Linked DNA regions of Homo sapiens: region 2 is linked to region 1. Evidence: promoter capture Hi-C in 16 types of primary human blood cells and fetal thymus (Javierre and others, 2016). All regions are on one chromosome and are shown on one strand. The core of a region is centred on a gene start or on the middle of the fragment in contact, and the rest is flanking DNA. Distances in the headings are between cores, read along the strand shown. Region 1 holds the start of CMTM3 (CKLF like MARVEL transmembrane domain containing 3). Region 2 overlaps BEAN1 (brain expressed associated with NEDD4 1).

What was found. The method cuts DNA at HindIII sites, captures the fragments that hold promoters and counts their contacts. A CHiCAGO score of 5 or more calls a contact.
Region 2: a fragment that was not itself captured here is called in contact with the fragment with the promoter of CMTM3 in region 1 in 2 of 17 cell types (total B cells and total CD8 T cells); the score reaches 5.2 in total B cells.

The regions. Positions count from the first base shown.
Region 1 is chr16:66,602,469-66,607,788 of GRCh38, reverse strand. CMTM3 (CKLF like MARVEL transmembrane domain containing 3) reads right to left here and starts at 3,085. Exons shown (of 5, transcript NM_181553.4): 1 at 2,837-3,085. The coding sequence starts at 2,983. It also overlaps a transcript of CMTM4 not described here. RefSeq lists silencers at 2,081-2,300, 2,361-3,200. The HindIII fragment of the contact is 16,414 bases long and covers 1-5,320 here.
Region 2 is chr16:66,451,546-66,456,865 of GRCh38, reverse strand. All of the region lies in intron 2 of BEAN1 (brain expressed associated with NEDD4 1), which reads right to left. It also overlaps the pseudogene LOC107984807. Among named protein-coding and RNA genes, the nearest start is that of BEAN1-AS1, 22 kb to the left of the region's middle. The HindIII fragment of the contact is 2,383 bases long and covers 1,289-3,671 here.

The sequences.
Region 1 (5,320 bases), core at 1,836-4,335:
ATGGCCCTGAGTCCTCACCTTACCCCACCCCAGCTCCCTGACAGGACCTAGTCAGAAAGCCCCAGCCTTCCAAGCACATGCACTCCACTCAGTGCCCTGCGGAGGGAAATCAAAGCGAGGCAGGAACCAGTTTCCAAAAAGTAACACCCAACACCAAAGACGTGTGCTCGTCACTGAATGTAGATTTCACCTTGAAAAGAAAAAACCTTGAACCTTAATGATATGCGTCCTGAAGTGTTCAGAGTTGAAATGTCCTGATGTCTGCAATTTATTTTGTGTTAAAAGATAAAATGCCTTGATGGACAGATAGATAAAGCAAAAAAATCTTTTGGAGTTTTAATGTATTTGCAAATTTTCATAATGATAAGAAAGGAACATCTAACAGAGGGTGCGTTGGCACTGACACCTCAGGCCCTGCTGCCTTATTCATACAGGGCCAGCTGTGAAAGGTGGGGCCAGCTGTACTTGAACTACAAGAATCAAAATGTTCACTGTGGTCTTGCCCACAACTCTGTAGGTGGGAAGAGCTGATGCAGGAGGATGTTGAGCCCTGGGCAGTCCTGCAGCCCAGGTACGCTGCAGAGCAGGCCAAGGTGACCTGTTGGCCAGCCTGGGGCTCCACAGTGCCTGGTACCCTGAGGCTCACGGGCATCTCCTCTGACCCTCACATCCACCCATGAGCACAGCCCCACTTGACAGATGAGAAGACTCTGTCACATGGCTAATCAGAGGCTACTAGAATTTGAACCCAGGGCTGGCTGACCCCCCAGATAGAGTTATCTTACCTCCGCCCCAGAGATGGAGTCTTGCTCCGTCTCCCAGGCTGGAGTGCAGTGGCACGATCTCAGTTCACTGCAACCTCCACCTCCGGGGTTCAAGTGATTCTCCTGCCTCAGCCTTCCCGAGTAGCTGGGATTACAGGCGCCCGCCACCAAACCCAGCTAATTTTTTTATTTTTAGTAGAGACAGGGTTTCACCATGCTGGCCAGGCTGGTCTCGAATTCCTGACCTCAGGTGATCCACCCACCTCGGCCTCCTAAAGTGTTGGGATTACAGGCATGAGCCACCACGCCCGGCCCAGGTAGAGTTCTTAAGCAACTTGGCCCTGTGGGTGTTGGGGAGGCCATCTGTCCCTGGTTTCTGTCACTGTGGCTGCGTTTGAACATGTCTATGGCTGAGTAGTTTCTAGTGGGTGCAGGAGTCCCCATGGGGACACCCAGATGCCCCACAGGAAGCACTGTGGCTGCTTCAGACAAATGAACTGCAGGGATCCCAGGGGGTCCCCAGAGCACCCCCATTTGCTCTGCACATGGCCTTGGGTGCAGCTGAGCCCCCTTTGGAAAGATAGACTAAGGCATAGAGACGGGCTGGGAGGCTGCTGGGGCCTCCCAGGAAGGCCTTCCATGGGACTGACCCAGCTCTGGCCCTCCCCTTCCTGTCTCCTATGCCTGCACCCCAAAGCCTAATTCTGGGGATTCCCCTCTCAATTCCTGTTTTTTCATCCCGCGATTTCTGGGGCCACTTCCTCTCTCTGTTTCTGTCCATCTCAGCCTCTGCACTTGCTTGGCCTGGGGGTGGGAGTGAGGGGACTAGGGAGGCAGGAGTGCCCTCAGCGGCTCCTGTGAACCCTGAGTGCTGACCGTTCACCCTTCCTTATCCTCCCTGACCTGGATTCCTGACATCTGCTGGGCCCAGGGTGGCCTCTATGCTCCTGCTGGACATATGCCTCCCTCTTATGAGGTGGTCTTGGGTGGGGATGGGGGGGTTCAAGCCACTCTGGGGACGGTGGATTCGAGGCTTCTCCCCTCAAGTGGCTCCCAGTGGTCTCCAGGGTGGGGCTGGGAGTGTGGGCTCGGAGTGTGGCATTGGTGTCTCACTTGGGCGTTGGGCAGGTGGCCTCTGGGCTGACCGTGGGAGAGGCTGCAGGACCACCTTCTGCCCTCTGCCCTGAGTGACCAGGGAGAGGTCCCGGAGCAGAATCCCCCTTCCTCCTGCCCCCACCCTCCTGGCCGCTCTCACTGGGCCCCTCAGTTGAGCCACCTGTCAAATCAGGCGCCTGAGCGCTCTCATCTGTAAAGTGGGGACAAGGGCAGGAAGCGCCAAGTTCCTGGGATCTAAGCAACAAGTGGCCGCCGCCGTGCGCCGCTCTCTCCTCCCGCCTCCCCCGGTCTCCGGCCCGGCCTCTCCCTCCCCATCCCCAACGGCCCAGCGCCACCCCTACCCCACAGCGGACAGTGCGGGCGCCTCCGGTGTCCAGAGGACAAAGAAGCCCCACCGGCCGGGGTGGGGGCGAGGGCGGAGTAGGAAGGAGCCCGGCCGCGGAGGGGAGGAGGGCGATGAAGTCACCGCGGGGCCGCCTCACCCAGTCCCGGGGGTGGGGGATCCCTCCCGCTCCGCACGGCCCCCCGCCGGCTCGGCCCCGCAGGTCGAGGCCCCGGCCCGCACTACCCGCTCGCAGGAAAGCGGACCCCGCTGCGGCCCGGGAGTCCCGGAGGTCCGAGTTGCCCGAGTCCCCGGGGCCCAGAGAGGGCGGGGGCGCCTGGCTCACACAGCAGGACCCACATCCCCGGGCCCCACCCACTTCCCACGGCCCCCAGCTCTGGACTCGCGGGGACAGCGCCGCGGATGGCCTGGGCTCGGGCCCCGCCCCGCCGTCCAAAGTTTGGGGACCTCGACCCAACTTCGCCAGGCGCCCGAGAGAAGTCGGCCGAGGCGGCGCGGAGAGGGGGTATCGGAGCACGGCGGCCGCCCCCGGACCCCACCCGCGCCCCGACGTCCTCCTCCGAAAGGAGCCGCGCAGTCCTAGCGGGGCGGCCGAGGGTCCCGCCGCACTCACCGACTCGGCCAGCAGGAGGCGGCCTTTGAGAGAGCAGAGGAAAGCCCGCGCCGGCAGCAGGGCGCGGAGCCCGGGGACCGCGGGGCCGGGACGGGAGCCGCCGGCAGGCTCGGGGTCCGGGTCGGGGTCGGGGTCTGGGGGCCACATGGCGGCGGCGGCGGTAGGGCCGGGGCTCGGCCTGGCTCCCCTCTTCTCGCGCCCGGAGGGAAGCGGAAACCCGGGCTGTGCGGAAGGAGGGCAGGCGACACTGGCTCGCGCAGGGGCGCATCCCCCGCCGCCACGCCCCGCCCCGCCCCCACCCGCTCCTCCAGCCCGCCCCTCCCCCTCGGACCCCGGCTGCGGGGGATGCTGGGCCCGACCCGCCCCCTCCCCGGCCTGGGGCCTCCGCAGACTCCACCTTCTTCTTCACCCTGGTTCGGGCCGCTGGAGACCTCCCGATCACCGCCCCGGCACCCCTTCGGAGCTCCCACCCGTCTGCCCCTATCCAGAAGGGCTGTCTATACTCGCTGTCTCCGGTCTAACTTCCTGCCCGTGCGCGTGTCTGGGATCCGGGAACCCAGGCGTCTAAACAGCAAAGACCCCGGCCGTGATGTCGGCTCCGCAACCCATGCCCTCTCTTTTTCTTGGGGGCCGGAGTTTTCTTGCGACTTTCTTGGCCACCCCTCCTGTCCCCGGCCAGCCCCACCCTCCTCCAGGGCCTCTTTGTTGGCTGTTCCAGGCCTCGGTCCTGCACCCGCCTCCCCCAACCCATTCTCAGAGGACTCTCAGACCTGCAAGCGCAGCTCCAGGCACACACACAGACACACACACACGCGCGCGCGCGCGCAAACACACACAGGCACGCACATCTGCAGGACTTCCTGACCTGCAGTCCCCCCACCCCAACACATCTCTCTCTCTCACACACACACACACACACACTCCACACGCACATGCGTGCACATCTAGAGAGCGTCTGGAGTTCAGCGTGATCAAGACCCAGCTTCCTGTGCCTCTGCGAAGGGCACTGCCCCCTCCTTTCCTTCCACCTGACTAGCGGAGACCTGCGGGTTGTCCTTGTCCCTCTTCACCGGCAGTCTGTAACCAAGGTCCTCCCACTTTCACCTCCTATAACTTTCTCTGATCTCTGTCTACTTCTCACCACCACTAGATCCGAAACCATTCCTGCCTGCTCCCCGCTGAACTGCTGTGATGGTGTCTTTAAGAGGCCCTTAGGTTTTCTCTCTGGGCAGCCGGGGGAGAGCTTATGGCACAGTACTGCGCACCCTTGACATAACTAACTCCATCTTAGAAAAAGACTTCATTTTATATTTCATAGGGTGCTTTGCCAACAAGGGCAAGATGTTTTGTTTAATAAAAAATAGAAGGTCAGGCGCTGTGGCTCATGCCTGTAATCCCAGCACGTTGGGAGGCTGAGGTGGGTGGATCACGAGGTCAGGAGTTCGAGACCAGCCTGGCCAATATAGTGAAACCCCGTGTCTACTAAAAATACAAAAATTAGCTGGGCGTGGTGGCACCGTGCCTATAATCTCAGCTACTCAGGAGGCTGAGGCACAAGAATCGCTTGAACCCGGGAGGCATAGGTTGCAGTGAGCCAAAATCACACCACTGCACCCCAGCCTGGGCGACAGAGCAAGACTCTGTCTCAAAAAATAAAAAAAAAAATAAATAAAGACTGCGTCCAACCACATAAGGACACAAAGAAGCACACTGTTCCTCTACCATTTCTCACCAGAGCACTCTGTGACTACAAAACAGCAGCCCAGCAGCCTTAACTGACAACCATCCCACTGCCGTTCATAAGAACTCTGCATCTGCCTCCCAAGGCTCTGCCCCTCAAAGACTCTGCAAGACCCTCAAGCCCAGACCAGGATTCCTTTTGTCTTCTTCCTTACCCTGGAACTGGTTCCTTAACCCTTTCTCCTATCTCTTTTTCTCTTGATGTTAAATGCTACTTTGTTTGTTGTGGAATGTTTATAACATTTACATGTGGATTAAGTATACTATTATATATGGTTTGCAATATTGACTGACTTGTGGAGTGGCTTGAGCCCATGTGCTCACTACTGAGTGAACGGGAAGTACTAAGGAAAATTGGCTCCTTGGGTCTGGGTGCAGTGGCCCATGCCTATAATTCCAGCATTTTGGGAGGCTGAGGCAGGCAGATCACCTGAGGTCAGGAGTTCGAGACCAGCTTGGCCAACATGGCGAAAACCCATCTCCACTAAAAATACAAAAATTAGCTGGGCGTGGTGGCACAGGCCTGTAACCCCAGCTACTTGGGAGGGTGAGGCATGAGAATCACTTGAACCCAGAAGGCAGAGGTTGCAGTGAGCTGAGATCGCACCACTGCACTCCAGCTGCACTCCAGCCTGGGCGGCAGAGTGAGACTCTGTATGAAAGAAAAAAGAAGAAGAAGAAGAAGAAGCAAATTGGCTCCTTGGGATAGCTTGTGGCTTTTGTTTTTTTTTACCCTTGGGTATA
Region 2 (5,320 bases), core at 1,231-3,730, 150 kb after region 1:
TTAAGTTTATTTAAATAAACTCACTAAGAGTAACGCACATATTCCTCTGCGTATCTAACTTCCTTAAGTTTACCACCTTGTCATCATTCACTAAGGTTTTAACTCCGGCTTAAAGAAGAACTTATTTATTGGCTGAAAAACTCACTGAAACAATTTCACAAATTACTTTTCCCTATTTCTGCAGAGCAAATGGCAAACTGGTTGACATCACAGAACCAAGCCACATTAGAATTAAACATTCCACTTGAACCCACACCAAGCTCTCATTTTCTTGCTAGAATAATGACTGGACTCAACCTGCTCATATTCTCTTCTCTTCCATCACCATCTAGAGTTGGCTCTTGGGCCATTTTCCACAAAGAGCCCAGAGGCTTTTATATATATAATATAATGCCAGTGGAGTTACTGTGCATGCCTGATAAGTAGGAGACAGTGGAATTGGGTTGAGAAGCAGATTCTGGGGGGCTGGCTGGGCCCACCTACCGGCTAGGGGATTTGCTCCCACACCCCAGCTTGCATTTTGCTACTCAAAATCATGGCTCAGAAAAATGACCTTTGACTATAATATGGACTTTCCAGGAAGCTAGTGAATAATTGACATGTAAAATGTTAAATTCATGAATGCTGCGAATTTTCATCAGCTATCCCACCCAGGGGAGAGAGAATATTTACAAAGGATTGTGTGAAGGCCATGTCATCCACAGGCTGCTCTGCACAGTAAAGGTTTTAGTCCTTGGAACAAGTTCAACCAGCCTAGAGCTGTGTTCCTAGGCCACAGTGACTGAGCCTCCTTCCCAAGAATGAGCTTCCTGGAGTTGGGCTTTGCCTTATGCTCAGAGCCTGTGTTGAGGGGACTAGCTTAAGAAGTAGCTTTATCACAGCCAGGAGCAGTGGCTCACACCTGTAATCCCGGCACATCGGGAGCCTGAGGTGGGCGGATTGCTTGAGCGCAGGAGCTCAAGACCACCCTGGGCAATATGGTGAAATCCTGACTCTTAAAAAAATACCAAAATTAGTTGGGCATGGTGGCGTGTGCCTGTAGTCCCAGCTAATTGGGAGGCTGAGGTGGGAGGATCACTTGAACTTGGGAGGTCAAGGCTGTGGTAAACTGTGATTGCACTACTGCACTTCAGCTTGGGCAATAGAATAAGACTCTGTTTCAAAAAAAAAAAAAAAAGTAGCTTTATTATAAGCGTGTTGCTGCAGGTATTGTCCACTATACCTCTCAGTATCCCTAGGTAAGGCTCATGTAATAAATTTCTCCAAGATATGAGGGCCAGGGAAAGCTTTTCTTTCTCCAAAAGAGCTACTTTCTCCTCATAGACCATGAGAATCATGTAACTGATCCACTTTGCTGTTTTGCTTTGGCCTCCAGGAAGCTCAGGGACACTCTGTAGCTCAACTTCAAAAGGAAAGGAAATCATTCCTTCTTTGGCTCTCTGGTGCTAGTTAGCATCATTCAACACAGCCAATTTACAAATTCCCTCTGTGATTCAGATTTGGGAGAATGAGCCAACTTATGGTATGTGCAGGTCACCATTACATTACTTGCTGTTGTAGCTGTGAATAATCATCCTGATTTGGGGGTGTTACTTGCATTGCTCTAAAAGCTACTGGGAGAGGATGTACCCAGAAGTGGTAAATGCAGTGTTTAAGAGCCTGGCTTAGTGACACTGACCAGGGTATTTAATACTTACGTACCTTAGCTTCCTCATCTGTAAAAGAGTAATGACCACTCAGAGTGTTTCTGTGAGGATTAAGGGAGATAATTTAGCAGTCCATACATGCAACTATAAAGCTAGACAAAACTGTCAAAGTACCATTGCAGTTCCTGGAAATTGATCAAAGGCATACAACGAACTGAGAAGCACTTAGTATGAAAAAGACTGAATGTCAGGTAAGCACAGTGTGAACCTGTAATGTTCTTGCCTATGACTGCCTCCATACCCCTCCCCACCAGCTCTGCTCCCCAGTCTGTGAAAACCAGCAGCTTCCCTGCTACTGTTGGAAAGAGCCCATCCAAATGGATCACACTTTCTTGTTTCTTTGTCTTATAAAGTATGATCCATATTCAGGAAAAAATAAAAATAACAAAATAAAAAACCAAACCCAAAGCAAAAAAAAAAAAAAAAAAAAGAAAGAAAGAAAAGGAAGATGTATGCATGGATTAATAACTCCACTTAAAGGGCAGAGATTGTCAGAGTAAATAAAAAGACAAGACCTACCTGTATGCTGACTGCAAGAAACACACCTGATTCAAAGACACAAATAGTTTGAAAATAAAAGGATGGAAGGAGATATAGCATACAAACAGCTTGAGTGGTTATGCTGATATCAGGCAAAATAGACTTTAAGGCAAGATATATATTTCTAGAGACAAAGACATTTCATAATGACAAAAAAGTCAACATATTAGGAAGATATAAAAACTATATATGTATTATATATGCACTTAACAAGTCCCCCAAAACATGAAGTAAAAACTGGGAGAATTGAAAGAAGATATAGATAATTCAACAATAATAGTGGAGATTTTAATGTCCCAATCTCAATAACTGACAAAGCAATTAGAAACTCAGCCAGGATACAGAAGACTTGAATGACGCTATCAACCAGTGTGACATTCATAGAAGCCTTCACCAACTGAAGATTACGCATTCTTTTCAAGTGCACATGAGACATTCTCCAGGATAGACCACATATGGGCCATAAAACAAGTCTCAATAGATTTAAAAAGATTTAAATCATACAAAATATGTTCTCTGACCACAATGGAATTAGAGATCCAAAATAGAAAACTATCCGGGAAAACCCCAACTACTTAGAAATTAGGCCGGGCGTGGTGGGCTCACGCCTGGAATCCCAGCACTTTGGGAGGCTGAGGCAGGAGGATCATTTGAGGTCAGGAGTTTGAGACCACCCTGGCCAACATGGCAAAACCCTGTCTCTACTAAAAATACAAAAATTAGCCAGGTGTGGTGGCATGTGCTTGTAATCCCAGCTACTTGGGAGGTTGAGGCAGGAGAATCATTTGAACCTGGAAGACAGAGGTTGCAATGAGCTGAGATTGTGCCACTGCACTCCAGCCTGGGCAACAGAGCAAGACTCTGTCCCCCTGACCCAAAAAAAAAAAATTAAACTACATGCTTCTAAATAATCTATAGGTCAAAGAAGAAATCACAATAAAAATAAAAATATATTTTAGGCTAGGCACTGTGGCTCATGCCTGTAATCCCAACACTTTGGGAGGTCAAGGTGGGAGGATTGCCTTAGCCCAGGAGTTTGACACCAGCTTGGGCAACATAGTGAGATCCTGTATATACAAAAAAATAATAAAAAGTTAGCCGGGTATGGTGGTGCATGCCTATAGTCCCAGCTACTTGGGAGGCTGAAGTGGGAGGACTGCTTGAGCCCAGGAGTTCAAGGTTACAGTGAGCTATGATTGCACCACTGCACTCCAGCCTTTTGAAGCCTTTGTCTTCAGAAAACAAAACAATGTGTGTGTGTGTGTGTGTGTGTGTGTATAACAGAATGAAAAAAAACACAACATAGTATCAAAATTTATGGAATTCAGCTAAAGCAATGCTTAGTGGGAAATTCATAGCTTTAAATACTTATATTAGAAAAGAAGAAAGGAAAAGAAGAAAGGCCTCGACTTGAAAACCTAAGCTTTCATGTTAAGAAACTAGAAAAAGAGTAAACAAAACCCAAAGCAAGTAGAGGAAGGAAATAATAAAGATGAGAGCAGAAATCAACGAACTAGAAAACAGAAAAGCAACACAGAATATCAATGAAACCAAAAGTTGTTTTTTTGAAAAGATAAAATTTACAAATCTTAGCAGCTTTATGAGGTAGGTGCTAGTAATCTGATTTAATAGATGAGGGTACTGAGGCTCAGGAAGGTGAAGTGACTTGCCCAAGATCGCAAAGACAATTTTTAGTTGGGGGGAGGGAGACAGGATTTGAACCTGGTTCTGACTCCATAGACCAGGGAATAATATGATATCCTCTCTCCATCCTGGGGAGCTGTGTGTCCCTTCGTTACTCTGGGGCCGTACAGTTGGGCATTGGGGTAAGTGAGTCTGCCACGTGAGGTGCCATGAGGATTGGGAAACCCAGCTATGAAGCAAACCATCTCTAAACCCCATCCTCCTTTTCTCTACACTCTGGAATGTCTGTCCTGCAAAAAGCGTCTAGAAATTTCCCCAATAAACACTCACCTGACAACGCACTCAGATTCCTGGTCTCCCCACAGATCCCTTCGCCAAACACCCATGAGGGATTCTGGTGCCACCTGACCTCTGTAAATGTCACACTGGATGGGCATGCTTTTGCCAACTCCTTTAGGCCTTTCTGGTGGGACAGCAATTATGGCTCCTTCACTGTTCACCATGCTGCCCAGGCCCAAAGCCAGAGGCCTACAAAAGGCATGGCCCTGTGGTTTTCGATTCTGGAGCACATTAAAGGTGATAGGATTTTGTCCTCTGATCCTCAGAGATTCCTTCATTTCCCAGAATTTACAAGGGCATTTGGAAAACCAGCATCAGGGTAGCAGTGTATTAAAATTAGTATACTAGGGCTTATTCCAGAAATGCAAGGATGATTTAAGATCAGGAAATCTATTAGCATAGTATGTTACTTCAGTAGGCAGGACGAGAGAAACCAGTAGAATAGGAAAAGACAGTTACCTCTTTGCCATGATAGATCCTGATGATCTCAACTGACTGCCAACATCACACTAAACCATGGAGCTTTGGAGTAGTTTCCCAGCATGAGGTTCATGGCATGTGGATTCCAAAAAACATTATGGGGCATTTGGGGAGAAGTTCTTTATCCCCCACTCCCCATCAGATTGCTTTGCAGGCCTGAGCTATTTTGAGAATCAAACCAGTCCCAGTCCCAGGCCTTGTGTTCACCAACGTTTAGTATCCTGAGAAGGTAAGCAGCTCTAGGGTCTCTGGAAAAGGATCATCCTTCAGCCACCTTCCTTGGGCAGCCAAAGTCCCGAGTTCCTTTGCTGGAGCTGACCTGCTTCTTGGACTAGGACAGAACTCTGGTTAAATAAGACACAGACAATCCTGGGTTCAAGTCCTGGCACTGCCTCTTGCTGGCAGTGCCCACTGAGCAAGTCAGATCTCTAAGCCTCTATTGCCTCATCTGTAAAATGGGAGCAGCAATTTCGGCTATGAGCTAATCAAAGCAAACTGCCTAGCAGGATGCCTGGCTCATAATAGGTGCCCAATACATGACAATCAAATATTCAAAATTTAAAGACATTCCCTAGACTCAGAACTAAATGTGAAAGACAAAAGAGTAAAGC